Regions from separate parts of the Homo sapiens genome. Here all the other regions are linked to region 5. The links are contacts of gene promoters, found by promoter capture Hi-C in human tissues and cell types (Jung and others, 2019). All regions are on one chromosome and are shown on one strand. The core of a region is centred on a gene start or on the middle of the fragment in contact, and the rest is flanking DNA. Distances in the headings are between cores, read along the strand shown. Region 1 overlaps DCUN1D2 (defective in cullin neddylation 1 domain containing 2). Region 2 overlaps ATP11AUN (ATP11A upstream neighbor lncRNA). Region 3 holds the start of ADPRHL1 (ADP-ribosylhydrolase like 1). Region 4 overlaps ADPRHL1 (ADP-ribosylhydrolase like 1). Region 5 holds the start of PROZ (protein Z, vitamin K dependent plasma glycoprotein).

What was found. Contacts are between HindIII fragments. The study calls those that stand out against the background at their distance.
Region 1: a contact is called between a fragment that was not itself captured here and the fragment with the promoter of PROZ in region 5, in 5 of the 25 tissues and cell types used here (IMR-90 fibroblasts, aorta, dorsolateral prefrontal cortex and 2 more).
Region 2: a fragment that was not itself captured here is called in contact with the fragment with the promoter of PROZ in region 5 in 1 of the 25 tissues and cell types used here (heart left ventricle).
Region 3: the fragment with the promoter of ADPRHL1 here is called in contact with the fragment with the promoter of PROZ in region 5 in 3 of the 25 tissues and cell types used here (H1 embryonic stem cells, IMR-90 fibroblasts and adrenal gland).
Region 4: a contact is called between a fragment that was not itself captured here and the fragment with the promoter of PROZ in region 5, in 2 of the 25 tissues and cell types used here (heart right ventricle and liver).

The regions. Positions count from the first base shown.
Region 1 is chr13:113,477,564-113,480,263 of GRCh38, forward strand. The region is part of intron 3 of DCUN1D2 (defective in cullin neddylation 1 domain containing 2); the gene reads right to left. It also overlaps the pseudogene RNU1-16P. Among named protein-coding and RNA genes, the nearest start is that of DCUN1D2, 12 kb to the right of the region's middle. The HindIII fragment of the contact is 4,398 bases long and covers 1-2,700 here.
Region 2 is chr13:112,682,514-112,685,213 of GRCh38, forward strand. It overlaps ATP11AUN (ATP11A upstream neighbor lncRNA), which reads left to right. Exons shown (of 3, transcript NR_164109.1): 3 at 761-1,984. Among named protein-coding and RNA genes, the nearest start is that of ATP11A, 6.2 kb to the right of the region's middle. The HindIII fragment of the contact is 7,909 bases long and covers 1-2,700 here.
Region 3 is chr13:113,452,233-113,454,932 of GRCh38, forward strand. ADPRHL1 (ADP-ribosylhydrolase like 1) reads right to left here and starts at 1,256. Exons shown (of 8, transcript NM_001394807.1): 1 at 992-1,256. The coding sequence starts at 1,205. The HindIII fragment of the contact is 9,965 bases long and covers 1-2,700 here.
Region 4 is chr13:113,428,597-113,431,296 of GRCh38, forward strand. It overlaps ADPRHL1 (ADP-ribosylhydrolase like 1), which reads right to left. Exons shown (of 8, transcript NM_001394807.1): 4 at 356-496. Among named protein-coding and RNA genes, the nearest start is that of ADPRHL1, 24 kb to the right of the region's middle. RefSeq lists an enhancer at 2,157-2,700. The HindIII fragment of the contact is 8,177 bases long and covers 1-2,700 here.
Region 5 is chr13:113,157,385-113,160,084 of GRCh38, forward strand. It overlaps PROZ (protein Z, vitamin K dependent plasma glycoprotein), which reads left to right and starts at 1,264. Exons shown (of 8, transcript NM_003891.3): 1 at 1,264-1,346; 2 at 2,630-2,700. The coding sequence starts at 1,277. RefSeq lists enhancers at 747-1,324, 1,901-2,478. The HindIII fragment of the contact is 7,105 bases long and covers 1-2,700 here.

The sequences.
Region 1 (2,700 bases), core at 163-2,662, 320 kb after region 5:
ATAGAAACAGTCATTTGGGTTTTGTTCTGTCTCAAAGAGAAGGTGGCTTACAATTCCAGTAAGTATAATGTTTTCCATAGGAATTTTTTCCTTTTGGCCAGATTAAGAACTGCCCCTCTTATTCTTAGTTTTCTATGAGTTTTTTTTTTTTTTTTTAAATGAAGAAACATTGAATTTGATCAAACCCATCTTATGCACTGGGATGATCCTTTTTTTCCTGTTGTTAACCATGGTAAATTAATTACACCGATTGACTCTGTAACATTAAACGGATCTTGCATTCCTGGATATAACCAACTCTGTCATGATGTATCATCCTGGGCTTATCGTCTTGGGTTTTTTGCTAATGACTGGTCAGTTTCCTGATACTGTGTGTAGGATTTTTGCATCTTATAATCATCTTATGCATCTTCTGAGTCTTACAGCTGAGAGTGGCCTATAATTTTCCATTCTCAAATGTTCTTCCTTGGTTTTGTCATGCAGCTTTTGCTGGCCTTAAAAACAAATTGTGAAATCTTTCTTCCTTTACTTCTCTGGAAGAGGATGTTTAAAATTGGGGATTTTCCTTTTCATTAGGAGTTTGGTAGGATGTGCCAATTAAGTCATCCCAAACAGGAGTTGTCTCTTTGAGAAGATTTTAAACTACAGGCTCAAATTCTTAAGAGTTACAGAACTATTAAGATGTTCTATTTCTTCATGTGTCAGTTTTAGTAAATTACATTTTTCACATACGTTGTCAAATTTACTGGCATAAAGCTCTTCATACATGACTTTTTTTTTTTTAATGCTTCTGGCACCTATTATCTCGTCCCCCTTTTCATCTACGTACGTTACTTGTGATTTACCACATTTACAAGTCTTTTCAAATAACAAGCTTCTAGCTTTATTGATCCTTCCTAATGACAACTTCTTTTCTATTTAATTATTCTTGTAAATTAGTGCTTCTTTAAAAATATTAATTCCTTCCTTCTATATTCTTTTTCTATTTCTTGAGATGGAAGGCTTTGCTCACTGATTTTCAGCCTTTCCTTCTTTCTAAAATATGCATTTAATAAGCTGAATTCTACAAGCTTACATATATTGTATTTTCATTATTCAAGATATTTTCTAATTTCCATTGTAATTTCTTTCTCATCCCAAGGGTTACTTAGAGGTATGCAATATCCACACATATCCCTAGTTATCTTTTTGTTATATTCCTAGTTTAACTGTACTGTGGTCAGAAAACATACTCTGTATCATTTCAAACCTCTGGAAATTGTTGCAATTTACTTAATAGCCCAGTTTATTGTCAATTTTTATTAATGTTCTGTGCCTTTAATAAAGTTTTTTTTTTTTTAATTTTAAACACCAGGAGAGAACACGAACATAGTCCCCCACTACCACAAATTATGCAGTCCAGTTTCCCACATTTGGGAAAACCACAGGCGTCAGCACATCCAGAATGCAATGGATAAGCCCAGCTCTGGGAAAATCACCTTCATGATGATGGTATCTCTCCTGCCAGGCTGTTCTGTGTTTTCTTTTGAAAAGAATATGTATTCTTAAGCATCGAAGGCAACATTCTAAATGTTCTCCTAGGCCATTTGTTGTGCTGTCCAAATCTTCTATTTCCTCACTAATTTTTCATTGACTCATTCCATCAGTTACTACGATGTGTGTGAAAATTCCTCACTTTGATCATGGATTTGTATCTTTCTCTTTGTAGTTGCTTATTTTTGCTTTAAATACATTGGGACTCTTCAACAAATACATAAAAACGTAAGTGTGACTGCCTTCTTGGTGAGATAAGCCCTTTATCATTATGAAATGGTCCTCCTTATCTGTAGAGTTCCTGTATGCCTCAAAGCTGTTTTAGTTGTATCTATTTTAAACAATATGAACAGGTGATATTTAAAAATCCATCTGGGCCAGGCACGGTGGCTCCCGCCTGTAATCCCAGCACTTTGGGAGGCTGATGAGGCAAGGTGGTGTGTCCCCTGAAGTCAGGAGTTCAAAACCAGCCTGGCCAATATGGTGAAATCCCGTCTCTACTAAAAATACAAAAATTAGCCGGGCATGAGGCATGAGAATCGCTTGAACTCAGGAGACGGAGTTTGCTGTGAGCCAAGATCGTGCCACTGCACTCCATCCTGGGTGACAGAGTAAGACTCCATCTCAAAAAACAAACAAACAAACAAACAAGTAGGAGTACACTCGAAAATAATAAAAAGTTGAGTAAATAAGCTAGTAACATAAGCCTTTATATTATCAAGTATTATATACTGCACATAACTGGATGCGCTATGCTTTTTATACGACTGGCAGTGCAGTAGGTTTGTCTGTGCCAGCATCACCACACACAGGCAATGTATTGTGCTATGACACTATGATGGCTGGGATGTAGGAATTTTTTAGCCCCATTCTAACCTTACGGGACCACTGTTGTATAAGCGGTCCACTGTTGACCGAAATGTCATTATGTAGTGCATGACTGTAGTTCAGTAAGCTTAATGATTAAGAGACAGTTACATTAGGCCCTTTCATTTACTTTTATAACTTATCTGATAAGCGAGAAACACCTTAAGTTATTAATGAAGCCTTTATCCCAATCCTGTAGGTAGAATAGAAAAATGTTACAAGCAAAAACCAAAATGACATCTTAGTTTTTAACAGAGCAGCATAAGAAATTCTACGTTTAATATACAGTATTATGAAATA
Region 2 (2,700 bases), core at 92-2,591, 470 kb before region 5:
CTATTATACTTTCTGTCTCTATGGATTTTATATCTCTGGGGATCTCATATCAGTGTAATCTTACAATATTTGCCCCTTGAGTCTGGCTTCACTGAGCAGCATATATTCAAAACCATTTTTTTTCATACTTTTTTGGCTTTTTGAGTAGACTGAGATAATTTCCAGTTATCTAAGAATATTTAAGTATTCTTATAAGTTACAATAGATGAAAAATATTTTAAGGGAAACCATTTTATCTTTCTCTTTAAAAAAGTAAAGGGGTGGCCAGGCGCGGTGGCTCACACCTGTAATCCCAGCACTTTGGGAGGCCGAGGCACGTGGATCACGAGGTTAGGAATTCAAGACCAGCCTGGCCAACACGGTAAAACCCTGTCTCTACTAAAAATACAAAAATTAGCCAGGTGTGGTGGTGGGCGCCTGTAATCCCAGCTACTCGGGAGGCTGAGGCAGGAAAATTGCTTGAACCTGGGAGGCAGAGATTGCAGTGAGCCGAGATCGCATCATTGCACCCCATCCTGGGAACAGAGCAAGACTCTCTCTCAAAAAAAAAAAAAAAAAAAAAAAAAGCAAAGGGGTGAGTTTTCAGTTTTGTAGAAAGTAAACAGTTTAGTTTTACCTTTAAAAGTAAAAAGTTTGATTTTCATAAATTGAACATTCATTAAAGTGATGTTATGTAATATCCAAGCAACTTGCTTGACCAAAGGTACGAATTACTTTGAATAATGCTAAATTTCTAATTATCATCCACCTCTTATTTCAGATACCCTATCATCTTTACTCTGTTGGAGAGGAGCTATAATGGTCTATATTAAAGTTACTGTTCAGACAGATGATTCCAACAAATTGCTTTCATTACTTTATCGGTAATTTTAAGCACTACACAACTTAGTTGTTTTTTTCTGGAAGAAAACTGGAATTAAAATCATTGATCCTTTAGAGAAATAAAACAAAGGAGAAGGGAGTGTACAAAATAAATAAGAAAAGAATTCTTACCATACTTTCCTGTATTCTTACTGAGAAATAAAAATGGGACATTGAGAAGCAAAATTAATCCCGATTAGGCTCGCTTTGGGACAAGCAACCACTTTGCATGATTACCCATCGTTAGGTGTGAAACGGAGCCAATGATCGCTCATTGTCGAGGAGAAAAGACCTGGAGACCACGGCTTATCCAGTCTCGCTCCTGACCTGCATCTGAACACCTGAAGGAAGAAACTTTAACAAGAAAAAGACTTCAAGTGACAGAGGAGACAAAAGTCTCAAAGGTGCAGAATTCAAGAACTCATGGTGTCTCAGGATGGGTGTGAAAGTAACAAATATGAGATCCCCTGACAACTAAACCCAGGCATGTCCAGGAATCCCGGGATGCGGTGAAAGTTTTCACAGTGGAGCTCACAGGAATCCCCAGATGCCGTGAAAGTTTTCTCAGCGGAGCTCACACCAGCATTGTCTGGAATATTAAATGTTGTTATGCTTTGAGATTGGCACTTATGCCATTCAAATTTTTTTATTAAGAAGTACAATGAAATTTAACTTATTCCATTTTTGACACCAATGTAATGACCAAATTAAACTAGATTTTCAAAAATAATCAGAGGCCCTGCCCCACAAACTCCTCCTGGGCACAGGAAGATGTGGGGCCAGTCAGTAGTGACTCCTCTTGGGTGCTGATCCACCATGCTGAATTCAGACCGGCGCCAGTCCCCTGAGCGCCTCCCAATTCCTATGTGATTTCCTGTCCCTAGTATATGAACATGTCAGCCTTGATGTGATCACACAAATTATGGGCCATGACGCATCTACCACTCTTGCCTGTTCTGAAGGGCTGCCTTTAGTTGTCTTGCAAAGAGCACTTACACCTCTTCCCTACGGCACAGAAGCCCTGGGTCTGGGGTGACAGGGGCAGAGACCTGCCTGTCCTCCAGCCACCCAAGACCATGCTTCTGTCTGTAGGTTCCCCCAATAAAACACCCTTTACTGACAGATTTCATTGGTCTGGCTTATTCTTTGGTTTCTCAGCTCCTTCGGCGTTTGAGGGCCATGTTGCATATGTGGCCCTTTCCCGGAACAGGAGACAATGTTCTACGTCACGTTCCAGGACAAATGGCCTGGCAGAGCATGGCAGATGATCTCAGGGGGCGTTTGAGCAGGACCTCACTCTCCATAGCTCTCCTTCCCGGTGACAGGAGTCATGCGGGATAGATGGCCTTGCACGGGGCACTTTTCACTCTGCGAGTGCTCACGCCTTATGCTCTTCATTTTGTTAGTGCTCGTCAGCTAAAATAGCAGGTTAACTAATTCTTTCAGCATCTGCTGAGCACCACGCTATGCCTGAGGAGAGAAAGGTCGATAACTGATGATAACTGATCATCCAACAGGTTCACGTTCAGGTGGGAGACAGACATTGAGATGAACGACTCAGAAACCTGCTACACTGGGAGCTTTTACAAAAGCTTGGACCCCACTCCAAACCAACTGAGTCAAAATGTCTGGAGAAAGGCTGCCTGGGAAGTGCTATTTTATTAGTATTATTATTTGAGACAGTCTCACTCTGTCACCCAGGCTGCAGTGCAGTGGCATGATGGGAACTCATTGCAGCCTCAACCTCCCGGGCTCAAGCAGTCCTCCTACCTCAGCTTCCTGAGTAGCTGGGACTACAGGTGTGGGCCACCATGCCCAGCTAATTTTATTTTTTTGTGT
Region 3 (2,700 bases), core at 6-2,505, 290 kb after region 5:
ACGCCAAGGCTGTGAACAGTCGGACGCCTCCCCGTCTCCAGCAAGCCGGGAGCCTTATCTTATCGCCGGCGCTTCAGCTCTCCCGTTATTTAGGGACCGGCCACAGGCTCGATGGCATTCCTCTGCTGTGAGCACAGAACTAAACTGGGCACGTCCATGGCAGATGAACAGAATGGTGGAGTGAACGCATAAGTGAGATTTCATTGACTTAGCTGCAGCCCTCAGATTTTAATTCTGCCATGATAAACAGCACCCACGGGGTTTTGAAGAGCAAATGCCTCGTAGGAAAGCTGGACTGCATGTCTGTGCACCTGCCATTTCCCTGAAATTCATGCAAAAGCTTGATCCTAAAATCAATTTGCTACTTAAAGGTATTTTAAGAAGCTTTGTCTCCAATCTCGTCCAATCAAGTTTATGTCATTTTCTTAGAACACATTTGTGTATGGGCAACTCTCCAAGCTGAACCATTTTGGGAGATGATATTCTAACTTTAATTCATTGGAATTTAGAACTAATCCCCAAACAGTATTAATGGGTTCACATTTCAAACTGGCTTATTTTACATCCCTTTGTAATGAATTCAGAACAAGAAGGCTTAATCTCTGCAGCGAGAAGTGAGCCCTCACCCTACTCCCACCAGCACGGCCGAGAGAGGCTTCACTGGCTTTAACTCTATTAGAAACAGAAGGTGCTAGGCCTAGTTAACGCTTTACAAATACAAGTGAAAAGTCACGTTTAAAAACTGAATCTTAATAACTGCAAAGTAAAGTAATACTGTCACCCTCAGAGAAACCACAGGAGAAACGTGATCTGCCGCATATCAAATTTGAGGGACACTCAGATTAAATTGCCACTTTTAGCAGCGGTATCAGGTAACACCATCCGCTGAAGGACCGCACTGCCTTCAAAGCTCTCGGAGGCTTACTGGGAGAACTCGAGCAGCCAGTGTTCCCTCCAGCCCGCACACCGGAGCGCGGTGGGCCCAGCCTACCTGTGGTGAGGGCCTCGGCGGTTGCGATGTGCATGATGGTGTTGTCACTCACGGGCCATTCTCCTGGCGAGAGTACGAGGTGGTCCAGGCCCCCGGAACGTTGCAGCTCCTCCTGGATCTTCATGCCTACAGTGCTGTTCTCCTTGCAGACATTTCTGTAGCCAAGAGCATCGCCGACGCTCCCCAGCAACATCGCAGCCTTAAATTTCTCCATCCCAGGAGGCAGCTCCTCTTCCCCAACAGCTGCGGAGCGTCCTGGCCTTTGTCTCCTCCTCAGCCCGCCTGACTTTTATAGTGGTCACTGTGTCACTGTCAGGAGCGTCCTCTGATGGCCAGGCGCTCCTTGTCTATCTCTGCAGGTGGCACCAATGAGAGGACCTTTCTGTCCCCCACGTGGGAGGTGTCAGTTTTCTTCTGCGTCTGGACAGGCACCAGCTCCTCAGCAGAGGAGCCTGCTAGCTTCTGCCGGCAGCCGCAGCACATTCAGAGCGTTGACAGAGCAGGGGCTCCTCTCGCTGTCCCTGGAAGGAGTGCGCACACTTCCCCGTGTGTGGCGTGGGGTGATGCGGGAGCAGATGTGTGCAGGCGTGCCTGTCACTGCCGCCCGCTGCGGGGCGTGCCCTCACCCCTCGGGCAACAACCCATCTGCTGTCTCTACAGTTCTGCCTTTCCTGGACATTTCAAATACAATGTGTGGCCTTCGGTGTCTGGCTTCCTTCACTCAACATAATGTTGAGATTAATCTGTGACATGCGGTTTTATCATTTAGAAAACTTTTCGATTATGAAATGTGTTTTTGATAGAAAACTTTTAAAAAATGCAGTGTAGAGGGAACAAAGTCTATCTAGCTCCTGTGTGAACAATGACGGTGTCTTCTCAGCATGCGGTGTTTAACGGCTCCCAAATAATTGGACTGCACTGAGGGGGAAAGTCGTCAGCAAACCGCAGGCTTCACTAGAACCTCCCATCCGGCCCTCGGTCAGCTCAGTGTATTTACATCATCCCTGCTAGCTCATGAAAAGAATATTAAAAAATATGGAGACGGGGGGTGAGGCAGAATGCACACAGCCAGGGTTCCTGGTTTGAAATAAATTAGGAAAACAGTCCATCTCCCGACCCCACCCCAGGACAGTTCTCCGCAGAGGCCGGGAGCCCAGCAGGGCTGTGTCTCTCCCGTCTCCTTCCTCGGGGCCTGGTTTCCATCAGACCCAGGGGAAGCAAAGAGTTACACCTGGACTGAAGAAATGCGTCTGATAAAAACTCTCGTAGTGTACAGCGAGACAGTAGGAAGCATTTAACCGCCTGGCGTTATATCAGCACTTGTTAAAACGGAGGATCTCAAGCAGTGAGTTCACCTCACCCTCCACTGTCTGCTGGTGGAGGCAGCCATCAGCACAGTCATGCCAGCTAGCATGATCCTGAGATTCAGAAACAAACTTCAAAACCAGCATGCAGGCCGGGCGCGGTGGCTCATGGCTGTAATCCCAGCACTTTGGGAGGCCGAGGCGGGCGGATCCCCTGAGCTCAGGATTTTGAGGCCAGCCTGACCAATATGATGAAACCCCGTCTCTACTAAAAATACAAAAATTAGCCGGGCATGGTGGTGGGCACCTGTAATCCCAGCTACTTGGGAGGCTGAGATAGGAGGATCACTTGAACCTAGGAGGCAGAGGTTGCAGTGAGCCGAGATCACGCCATTGCACTCCAGC
Region 4 (2,700 bases), core at 15-2,514, 270 kb after region 5:
TCCAGGGGGCACCACAGGTCCCACTCACATCCCAGTGGCTGCCAGTCGCTTGGTGCCGCGGGCTGGGGTGGACGGGGACGGGTGGACCCGCCGGAGGCAAATGTCCCCGGCAGGCTCAGGTCTCTCTGAGGCTCCGGGTGGGGAGGCAAAGCCTCCCAGGTCAGGGCAGAGGCAGACTGGTCAGGAGCAGCATGGGGCCTGCCTTGCGAGGCCAGCTCTGCTCACATGGCCCGGACAGGGCCCTCCCAGTTCCATCTAAGAGCGAAAGTGCCTTGAAGTATTTGGGGGCCCATGGAGGGGCTGGATCTGTCCAGATCTGCTCTGAGTGCGGACTGGGGCCGGGGGAGCGGCTCACCTGCCGTGTGCCGGATGGTCTTCCTGCAGTACTCTTCTGCCAGAGGCACCGCCCGCAGCATGTCTCTCCCCCACTGGACCAGGGGCTTTCCTTGTGCGGCGAACGACACAAACAGGGCCGTGCACAGGGAGCCCAGGAAGCCTGGAGGGCAGGGAAGAGAGAGGGGGCACCATCACCTGGGCCGCTTGGGAGGGCCTGGGGCCGCCCGCCACGCTGCGTGGGACTCCCGAGGAAGGGTTTGCTCGTTTTCCGTCTTTCCCATGTTCAGGTGCACAGTTCGGCGGCATTAACCACGTTCACACTGTGGACATTCTCCATCCTCCCTGGAACTCCCCATCTTCCCAAACTGTAGCTCTGTCCCCACTCCACTCACCCCACCGCCCTCCCCAGGCCCTGGCCGCCCCCAGTTGACTTTTCTGTCTCCGGATGTGACTGCTCTGGGTGCCTGCTCCTCGTGGGACCGCACGCGATTTGTCCCTTTGTGGCGGGCGTGTTCCACTCAGGACGCATCCCCAGGTTCACCCGCGTGGCTCGCCACGGCTTCCCTTCCTCTCCGCGGCTGAATCGCATTCCGTGCGTGGACGAACGCATTTTGATTGCCCGTCATCTGTGTGTGGATGCATGAGCTGCCTCCGCCTTTGGCTATTGGGAACACCGCGTCACGTAGACCTTTAGCATCCGTGGCCGGGGATTATCAGTTAACGAGCCTGTGCAGGAAGAAGGCTGAGGTGGGGGCTCTCCTGACTTGAGAGCGACCCCGCAGAGCTCTGGGTCCGTTGTGCACACTCAGGCGTTTCCTGTGCGGGGCCGACTCACTCGCCCTGCTGGTGCTTGGGGCTTTTCTTGCCTAACTTCTGGGCGTGCATTAGCAGCCAGCAAGCTCATCAGCACAGACAAGCTCAGAGCTCATCTTATAGGCACTGCCTCCCTTATTTTCTTTGGTATGTCAAATTTTACAACTGTTTACTGAAAAATAAATGCATGCGAGTATATATGTATTTAATAAAACACGGTTAAGGAAGAAGTCCGGGAGGCCTGTCCTGGTCCATCTTCCAGGGCAGTGGGGAAAGATGGAGCCAGCGGCTTCTGGGGTACTGAGCTCACCCCGCAGTCCACACAGCCAGCCCTGCACCTCACGGAGCAGGTGGCACTGGGTGCGCAGCTCTCAGGGAACATGGCCACGTCTGGCCCCACTAGGCTCCCATCCACCATTGCAGTGGCCTCATTCCGCTAGTGTGCAAGCCATCAGAGAGGAGCTCGGAAGAGACTGATCTGAATTACGATGATCCTGGCCATAATGAGGCTAACAATGCCCAGGGCTGGCAGGACAGTCCTGGAAATCCCGTGGTCACCGTCTGGGTGGAGACAGCCCTGGAGGGGCTGCCTCTTCCAAAGACATGAGCTCTCTCCTCTCACTGCTAGCCATCGTGGGGACTGCAGCCGCTGCGGGTCAGTAGTGGCAGGAGGCGAAGTGATGGCCATGGTACTCATGATGTAGTTTCAGAGATGCAGTCGTGTGGGAGGACTAGTGACGGCCGTGGTGACAGTACCAGTAGCAGCAGCAACAATGGTGGTGGTACTCGTGACGGTCAGGGTGGGAACAGTGTGGTGCCAGTGACTGCAGCAGTGGTTGTCGTACTAGTGACGGTATCATGTGGAGGAACTGGTGATATCAGTGGTGACAGGACCAGTAGCAGCAGCCATAGTGGTGATGGCTGTACTGGTGACAAAAGCGGAGCAGTGATAAAAGGCGGGGGTGGCACTAGTGGCGGGGGTGGCAGTGGCACCAGTGGCGGGGGTGGCAGTGGCACTAGTGGTGGCGGTGACAGTGTTGCTAGCGACAGCAGCAGTAGGGATGGTGTGGTGCTGCCGATGGGAGCAGCTGTGGTGGTGGCAGTAGTTACAGTGCGAGTGGCCATGCAGGGGAGCAGTGACCCCCGTTGCCGAGCCCTTGCCCCACTGGGCACTGCTCCCAGGGTGTCATCTGCCACTCAGTCCTCACGAGAGCCTGTGAAGGGCATGGTGATCACCCCTCTTGTGGATGGGGCATGTGGGGCTGAGAGGTTGTGTTGCTGTTTTGGAGCCATGTTAGCTTCAGAAGGTTCTGCTGTGGACCCTGTGGGTGTGTCTGAGGCCCACAGCCACCTAGGAGAGGGGCGAGCCTGCTGTCACGGCGCCATTGGCCAGAGGCAGGCTCTGCGGTGGGTGCCGCGTGCGTTCTGACATCCCACTTCTCTGTACACCGGGGCTGTGACACTGCCCTGCCGGGGCTGTCGTGGGGAAAAGATGACCCTAAGCCCAGGCTGGGCCCACGGTGAACGGCCACTCAACACGGCCGCTACATG
Region 5 (2,700 bases), core at 14-2,513:
CAAACCTTGGAGCCGTGCTGCCCGACACAATTCATCATGAATCCCATCAGCTTTCCCTTCCTGAAGCATCCAGACTGCAAACGTGCTTCCTGCTGCATGGCTGCACCCTCACCCCCTCCTGGACTAGCCGGCAGCCTCCCTTTTGACTTCTCTGGAATGTTCTGTTCTCCACACAGCAGCCCAGTGATCCCTTCAGAGCACAAATCTTTCCATGTCAATTCCTGTTCCCTCCAATATCTTCCCAACACAGTGAAAATGAAACACCAGGTTCTTACCTCAGGCTTCAAGGGCTGATATGGTTTGGCTGTGTCCCCACCGAAATCTTATCTTGAATTGTAATCCCCATAGTCCCCACGTGTCCTGGGAGGGACCCGGTGGGAGGTAATTGAATCATGGGGGTGGTTTCCACCATGCTATTCTTGGGATAGTGAGTGAGTCTCAAGAGATTTGATGGTTTTATAAGGATCTGGCATTTCCCCTGCTTCAGTCATTCTCTCTGCTGCCACCCTGTGAAGAGGTGCCTTCTGCCATAATTATAAGTTTCCTGAGGCCTCCCCAGCCATGTGGAACTGGGAGTCAACTAAACCTCTTTTCTTAAATTACCCAGTCTTGGCTATTTCTTCATAACAGTGTAAGAAGGGACTAATACACAGGGCCTACATCTGAAAGCAGCAAACGACAACCCTGGGGCCAAATCTGGCCCCTTAATAGCTCTTATAAATAAAGCTTTATTGGCACACAGCCAAGTGTTCATTCATGATTGTCTATGCTGCCTCTGCTACAATGGTGCTGAGCTGTAGTGACAGACACTATTTGGCCCTTCCCCGCTTTCTCCCTCCTCCCTCCCTCCCTTCCTTTTCTCCCCTTCCTTCTTTCCATCCTCCTGCTTTCCCTCCCTCACTCCCTCCTGTCTCTTTCCCTCGTTCTTTTCTGTGTATTCCACACACACCTAGAACGTAAGCTGCATGTGACTTTGTCTGTCCCGCCCAGTGCTGTGTCCCCAGGGCCTATCTCACCTCCATTGACCACACACGGGCATGGGTGCCACCTTCCACCTTGCACCTGCTGCCTTTACCTTCTGTTCTCTGTCTCCCTAAATATCTCCCAGGGTCCTCTGAGCCTTCACCGTTCATTTCTCTGCCTGGCCTCAAACAGAAAACGTCAGGAGGGAAGCACACAGCTGCACAGGTCGTGCCCCGAGGCTCCTGCTGCCGGCACCTCCCCCAGCCTGGACTTTGGCTGTGTTTGTAGCCCTGTCCCAGCGCTCCGGGTGGGAATGGCAGGCTGCGTCCCACTGCTCCAGGGCCTGGTCCTGGTCCTCGCCCTCCATCGTGTGGAGCCCTCAGGTAGGCATCTGGCTTACCTGTCTGTTGTGCCTGTGCTGTGTCTTTCTTGACTCGGTCCATGGTGGATTTGTAGATGAGGCTTTTTCCAGGAGCCAGAGGAGCCCTGAGTGCCCAGACTAGTCTTAATTCCCCTGAAAAAGCTGTTTGGATCTTTATCATTTGGTGACAAGTATTTGGGACATGATAGTGTCACTTGGGGTCCTCCCAAGAGATGCCCAAATGGAAAGAAGCCTGTGTGCAGGGGATTCAGCCGGGAAAGGCCGGGGAGAGGGGAGGGGGAAAGGGGGAGGAGTGGGGGGAGGCCTGGGTTGGGCATTGGACGAGGGGAGGGGGTGGGGCAGGCTGAGCCCAGACTGCAATGTGGGCAGAGAGAGCCTTGGCCAGGCCAGCCAGGAATGCCCAGTCTTGAGTCAGGAGACATAGCCAGGGAGCAGCCACCCTGCCTGCCTGCCACCCTTCTACCACCAGCCACTTCACTGAAGGAACGACATGGACTCCATTCTGACTCTGCCTGCACAGGCGTCCAGGAAAGCTGCAAGTCAAAACACCCAGCATCCCCGCTGGCCCCATGGTCTCCCGCTGGCCCCATGGTCTCCCACCCTGAGAGGGTGATCCCCCCGCCCTGCCCTGCCCAGCACTTACCGTAGCCGGACTTAGCTGAGCCCCCCCTGCTGTAACCCTCAGCACCGAGAGAAAAGGAGGGAGGATGGGAAGGGCCTGGGCTTTGACCCTCCCGGAGAGGGAGAGAACATGCTTTGGGACCCTCAGGTGGGAAGAGGCTCCAGAGACCACTGCCGCGGGTCAACTCATTTGCCTTCTCCTCCTGGAAATCGCAGAGCCTGCTGCAATGTATAAGTTTCTTCTTTATGTGTTTTATCAAGATGTTAAATGCTGCGCACAGAGGCAGCACAGGAGCTGATGGCTCTTGGTCCCCAGTTCTCAGTACGGGGACCTTTGACCCCAGCTCAGCCTTCCTTCGCACTCAGACCCAAAACCCAGTTGGAGCCCTCCCTCCTCCACTTTCCTGACTGAGGCCCGTGGCCTCTCTGCAGAACCTTAGTGTATCCGCACTGATCCTGGGGCTGATCCATTCGCCCAGAGGATGAAGTGCTTGCCTACCTCGGGGGAGGGAGTAGCGGGGTGGCCCTGAGGCCCTCGCAGGCTGAGAGCCTGTGGAGACGGACGGGGCTGGGGCTGGCGGCCGGCCGGGGAGGAAGCCAGGCAGCTCTGGAAAGCAGGGCCCTCGGTGCTCCCAGTCACCTGCCTTCTTGTCTCGTCTGTAGTATTTCTCCCGGCCTCCAAAGCAAACGACGTTCTGGTGAGGTGGAAGCGTGCGGGCTCCTATCTTCTGGAA